Regions from separate parts of the Homo sapiens genome. Here region 1 is linked to region 2. Evidence: promoter capture Hi-C in 16 types of primary human blood cells and fetal thymus (Javierre and others, 2016). All regions are on one chromosome and are shown on one strand. The core of a region is centred on a gene start or on the middle of the fragment in contact, and the rest is flanking DNA. Distances in the headings are between cores, read along the strand shown. Region 1 has its middle 14 kb from the start of FGFR4. Region 2 holds the start of UNC5A (unc-5 netrin receptor A).

The links. Contacts are between HindIII fragments. The CHiCAGO score rates a contact against its expected background, and 5 or more counts as called.
Region 1: a contact is called between a fragment that was not itself captured here and the fragment with the promoter of UNC5A in region 2, in 4 of 17 cell types (endothelial precursors, M0 macrophages, M2 macrophages and 1 more). The highest score is 8.9, in endothelial precursors.

Annotation. Positions count from the first base shown.
Region 1 is chr5:177,071,709-177,074,735 of GRCh38, reverse strand. It overlaps a transcript of ZNF346 not described here. Among named protein-coding and RNA genes, the nearest start is that of FGFR4, 14 kb to the left of the region's middle. The HindIII fragment of the contact is 2,298 bases long and covers 519-2,816 here.
Region 2 is chr5:176,808,914-176,812,038 of GRCh38, reverse strand. UNC5A (unc-5 netrin receptor A) reads right to left here and starts at 1,480. Exons shown (of 15, transcript NM_133369.3): 1 at 1,219-1,480. The coding sequence starts at 1,288. The HindIII fragment of the contact is 10,823 bases long and covers 1-3,125 here.

The DNA.
Region 1 (3,027 bases), core at 418-2,917, 260 kb before region 2:
AGCCTCTATCAATTTTTCTGGCTCTCAGCGAACGTTTTCATTCAGTTGCAAGACACAGAAACTCAAATTCAAACCTGCTTACACAAAATAGTGAATGTACTGGCTCATGCACTTTTTAAAGAGATGAGGTCTGTTGTGCTGCCCAGGCTGGATGTGAACTCCTGGGCCTAAGAAATTCTCCTGCCTTAGTCTCCTGAGTAGCTGGGACTACAGGAGCATGACTGTAAGTCCTGGTGTGAATCAGGCTCCAGAAACAGCTTGATCCTGGTTCCCAACAGTATGGTCAAAACTCATTCTCTCTTCTGTCTTCTTCTCTATGACAGGTGCTCCCTAAGAAGTGACAAAGAAGGCCACTAACAGCTCTGGGCTCGAGACATTCCCACTTGGCAACTTCTCAACTGTTCTGGCAAAAGCCAGGAGAGTGGAGGTCTTCCCCACCCGGACTACATAAGCTGAGGGTGGGGTTTTTCAAAGAAAAGCTTATTATAGGAAGAAGGGTAAACAGACACTAGGAAGCTTCTGATTATTATACCTAGTGATTCTGTGAGCCTTTACTGCACAAACTGTTCCCAAACTTAATTATTTAAAACAATGTATTATTTCTCACAATTCTGTGATTAGCTGGGCTCAGGTGGCAGTTCTGCTTATGCTGTGGATTGGCTATGCTAGAGGGTCTGGGATGTCCTCCCTCACATGTATGGAGCTGGCTGTTGGCTTCTCTCTCTACCTGGTCTGTGGTCGCCACATGGTCTAGCCCAAACTTCCTTTCACAGGGTCAGGAACGGAAGCTGCATGAGCACTTAAGTCCTAACCTTGGAAGTCGTACAGTCATGTTACTGAATTCTCTGATCAAAGCAACTCACAAGACTAGTTCAGATTCAAGAGACTGGGAAATGGACCCCCCCCCTCCCCCGCCCGCCCGATCTTGATGGGAGCAATGATAAAGTCACATTGCAAAAGGACACAGGCACAGGGAGGCAATGATTCATGGGAGGCCATTATTGAAACAATCAACTGTGTTCCACAACTCGCCTCTTCTAGTTCCTTTCACTAAGCCTCCTCCCACCCCAGCAACCTGGCTCCTTTGACCTTCATGACCACTAGAGGATCATCTCCCTCAATAAGTCTTTCCGGCCAGGTGCGGTGGCTCACGTCTGCAATCCCAGCACTCTGGTAGGCCGAGGTGGGAGGATCGTTTGAGCTCAGGAGTTCAAGACCAGCCTGGGCAACACAGTGGGACCTTGTGTCTACAAAAAATAAGATAATTAGCTGGGTGTGGTGGTGTGCGCCTGTAGTCCCAGCTACTCGGGAGGCTGAGGTGGGAGGATCACTTGAGTCAGTGAGGTCGAGGCTGCAATGAGCTGTGTTTGCACCACTGCATTCCAGCCTGTGTGACAGAGTGAGACGCTGTTTCAAAAAACAAACAAAATAAATGTCTTTCCTGTGAAATCCCAGCAATGGTCCCTACCAGACCATACCCATTTTTATTCATTTATTCATTAATGTATTCAATCACCAAGCAGTTATTAAAACATAAGCACAGTCCTATGCTAGGGACCAGGGATGCAGTATCATAAGACCCAATTCCTGCCCTCAAGCAGTTTCTAGTCTAAAAGAAGAGACAGGGAATTAGATCATCGTAACACAGCATATTAAGGGCTATGCTAGAGGGGAACACAGGGCATCTGGGAACACAAAGGGCAGCCAACTTGGCCTTGGGGGCCAGTGATCTCTGGATGAGTGGAGGTCCCCAGGTTGACAAGGGGAGCTGGAGCAAGTATTAGGCAGAAATCTTGGTTGCAAGTTATAGAAACTCAACTGACTTAAAGAAAAGTCATAACTAAAAAGTCCTGGGGGATATTAGCTTCAGGCATAGCTGGATCCAGGTAGTCATCAGAAATGAGTCTCTCCTTATCTGGAGTACAGTGGTGTGATCTCGGCTCACTGCAACCTCCGCCTCACGGGTTCAAGCAATACTCCTGCCTCAGCCTCCTGAGTAGCTGGGACTACAGACGTGCGCCACCACGCCTGACTAATTTTTGTATTTTTAGTAGAGACAGGGTTTCATCATGTTGGCCAGCTGGCCTTGAACTCCTGACTTCAAGTAATCTGCCTGCTTTGGCCTCCCAAAGTACTGGGGTTACAGGTGTGAGCCACCGAGCCCGGCCTCCTCTGTGTTGGCTTAGTTCTGAAGCAGGCTGTCCTTACATGCTGGACACTAACAGCTGAAGACTATGACTGTGATTACTCAGTCGGGTCACAGGCTCACTCCTGGAATCAGAGAGCAGGGCCAGTCCCTCGGAACCACAGGATCTGAGAATGGAGCAGGTTTGTCACCCAAAGGAGAAAAGGAAAAGAAGGGCTGTGGAGCTGGCCTGACATCAGGTGTACTTCTAGACAGGTGACTAAGTTACAGCCCTCAAACAGAGAGGGCCTCCTGAGGGAAATGTCCTGAGGGAAGGGGAAATCGGCCTTGGGAATGAGCAGAAGTGCTAAGATCAAATCTCTCTCCAAGGCTACTTCTTGGTTGTGTAAGCTCTGCAAGACTTTGTCCCTGACTTTCTCCTGTGAAATCAAGTCTTTGCCAGTTGTCCTGAGGGTTAACTGAAATAGCATATACAGGGGCTCGTGAAGTCACCCTGTTCTCTTCCCATTAAATCAAACAGTAAAGTCCCAGGGCTGGTCTACCTTGCTAGAAAAAAGAAGCTGACTCCACCTAGTGGCTAATGGGGTCATTGCACTGAAGAGTTGAACATTTACAGAACTGCGTTCTGATATTCCTAGACAGATGAAGCAGCATATATGAACAGTAAGCTTGGGAGAGACAGGCCGGGGACGGGTCTGCCCTGTCTCTGTAACAGGGCTTTGCACAGGGCAGAGAGGTGAGGTTAGGTGGATGGATGGTCAGAGGGAGAAAGTGTTCTTCCTATTGTATTTTACACTAGTGACTGCTCATCAGAGCATCTGGTTTGGGGGTGGGGACAGCTCATCTGGCAGGGACTGCTGTGAGGGAAGGAAGGGCTTTCT
Region 2 (3,125 bases), core at 231-2,730:
GATGGGGCGGGCGGTCAGGCAGTGGTGGGTGCAGGATGCGCTGCGCAGAGACACCCTTTAAGGAAACAGCCATCGGCCTCAATCATCAGGCTGGCTCCTGAGCTCCCACTCATTGATCTCTGATCAATCTGGTTTGGCAGCTCAGAAACCCCAGTGCTCCCTTCCAACACCCCTGTTATAAGCAGCGGCCTGGCCAGGCTGGGGAGTAACCGCCCAGGTTCTAGGGGCAGCAAGAATCGAGAATTGCCAGGGTAAGCCTCAAGCCCCCTTGACCACACAAATGGCACCCACCCCCCACCACCACAGACACATACGCTCAACTCAGCTAAGTGCATGGGGGGCAGAGATCAGGAGGCCCCCACAGCTCAGCCTAGGTGAAGGCTCAGGGACAGCAGACAAAGGATGCAGGGGAACTTCCTCCCCCCAAGCCCCTCCCAAGGGAATGAGGTGGGCTGAGGGCTGAGTTAGCAGTGGGTTAGGGTGACCAATGGGGCATGCAGGGGCCAAGAAAGGCTATGGAGTTTAAGGAAGAAGGGGAAACTGGCGGACCAACCACACACAACTCTGGCCCCCCGCACCAGGGAGGCCAGGAGCCACAGCCCCGGCCACCGGGACCGCGGCGCTTTGACTGTGCTGGCTGCAAGGACTGGGGGCTGGTGTATGCGCCTCCACGCCTGAGTGTGTGCGTGTGAGAGCGTGTGTGGCGGGGACAGAGGAGGACACTGTGTTCTGGACGTGGGCAGAGGCCAGGTGCCAAGCTGGGAGATTGTGAGTGGCTGTTTAGGGCAGATGCTACCGGGAAGAGGTATCTTAAACGTTCCCCGCACCCCCCATTTCCTGGGCACTGGGATAGGCTCAAAACCCTCTAATCTTCGAATCCTCAAAGTCAGGCTCCCTGGGGTTGATCCAAACCCCCAGCCCTGCTCCGGGCCCAGGCAACCAGCAAACTTCCCCCACCCGGAGGCGTGGGGTGTCTACACTCGCCAGCCCCGCGGGCTGACAGCTGCTCCTGGACTTGGCAGAACCCAGGCTTCCGGGAGAGCGCGCGGGGAAGCTGCGCAGCAGCAAGAAGAGCCCCCCGCGTCCCGCCTCGCAAAGTTTGGCCTCGGGGGGCTCCCAGCCGGGTCTGGCAGCGCTGGTCAGGGACCCCCAGAGCAGCGAGCGTTCGCGCGCACGGTCCCCCGCAAGCCTCCCCAGAGCGCGCGCGGCGTGACTCACCCGAGCCGCGGAGCCAAGCGGCGAGGACTATGCCCAGGAGCGCTGGCCACAGGCCGGGCCGGACGGCCATGGCCGCGGGCGGGCAGGCGGGCGGGCCGGGCGCGGGGCCCCGCGGGCGGGAGGGCGGCTTTAGCGCCTCAGCCCGGAGCCCCAGCTCGGGGCGCCCCCGGGGCCCATGCCAGCGGACTGCGCTGCCTCCGGGCGGCCGGCTGCCGGGCGCACGCGGCGCGTGGCTCCCTTGGGCACGGGAGCGCAGCAATGCAGCCGGGGCGGAGCGCAGCGCCAGCCGCGCCGCGCACCGAGCCAGCCGCGCCGCGGAGCCCGCAGCCGGAGAGCGGGCCGGTGGGCGCCGCAAAACCCGGACTGGAGCGACGGAGCGGGGCGGCGGCTGGGAGGGGCGGGGGAAGGAAGGAGGGGCCGGGCCGCCCCGCGCAGCGCGCGCGGGCCACCCCCAGCACCGGGAATCCCTCTGGGCGATGCCTGAGGCTCCCCCAGGGAGGGGCTTGGGGTGGTGGGCGTGGAGGCCTCCCACCGCCCCGCGGGGTCTCCAGGGACAGGGGCAGGAGTCTGAAACCCGGAGTGGATCGGTGCTCCGGATCCGGGCTCTCGCGGGCCCGCCAGTCTGCGCACAGGTGGCCCGGGAGGGGCCCGGGGCTGCGGCGACCCCGGCGCGGCGCCAGCCTGCGGAGAGCCGCCCAGGGCAGGGGTGCCCCGGGCAGGTTCCGCTGCAGTCCTCTCCCCCGCCCTTTCCTCGCGGCCGCGCTCCGGGGTCGTCCGGGCGCCGCGGTACGCTGCCAGCCCGCGGCTTGGTTAGGGGACTGCGGGAGAGCCCCGGGGCCCTGGCCCGCGCGCAGAGGTGCCCTGGCCACCAGAGCTGGCAGGCCAGACTCGGGGACACCCGCAGTCCCAGCCTCGCAGGCTGGTGGATTCCAGGGGCGCGCCTCACACCATGACCCAAGGTTTCCCTAACCCCTCGGCGCCGTTCGCCGAAGGAAAACAACCTTCAGGCGCAGCACACCCGACTGGGCGCGCGGTGTTTGAGCCCCGAGAGCGCACGGCGCCCGCGACGTGGGTGTAAAGGAACGAGCTGGGCTTTGGCAGCTAGGGAGACCGGGGGTAGGGTCCAGGCGACTTCACCTTCCAGCTCTGTGACCTTGGTCAAGTCACGTCGTCTCCTGGAGCCTCCAGCAGTGACCGCTGCTGGAGTCTCCTGTGCCCCACCCCCATTCCCTAATCGGGTTAAAATAAACAGAGGGCTGCCTTGAAGGAGAAAGGAAATGACAGCCGCGTGCGGTGTGCCTGGGGGGAGTGATCGGAAAAAGAGAGGGTCCTAGTCTGGGTCGGGAGGGGAATGAGCAGGGTGAGGGCAGGGTCGCAAACTCAAACGCCTACGGGGCCGGTCGATAATATAAATTGGCGCTGCAGGCTAGGCGATGTAAGGGATGGTCTTGCTTCCACAAAGAGATATGAGCTCTCCTATATTTCTTGAGACACGAGGCCCTCTCTCGGTCTGTCTTTTGTTTCCCACTTTTGATAGAGAAGGGTTATGAAAAATGTTTTGCTTTCCTCTTAAGTCTACTATAAAAAACACCAGCTAAAGCTCCAGAGGCAACCATACAGACGCTGGGCTCCATCGCCAGGGAGGCAAAGGGCAGTGCTGGGGACAGGCACAAGGATCCCATCTCAAGGGGCAGCTGCCTTTTCTGCTCCAGGTGCTGGTTGTCGGGGGAGGGGACCGGGGCACAGTATAGCCGCATCTTCCAAATTTTCAACAGAAGCCGTCGTATGTGAAATATTCTGATTTAAAATTTTTAACTAGTAAAAAATAATTTTTTAGACTTCATGTGAGCCCAGGGGAAAGTGTTCACCACCTTCTGGTTTGGGAACTTTGCTTTCGGGGCAGTTTG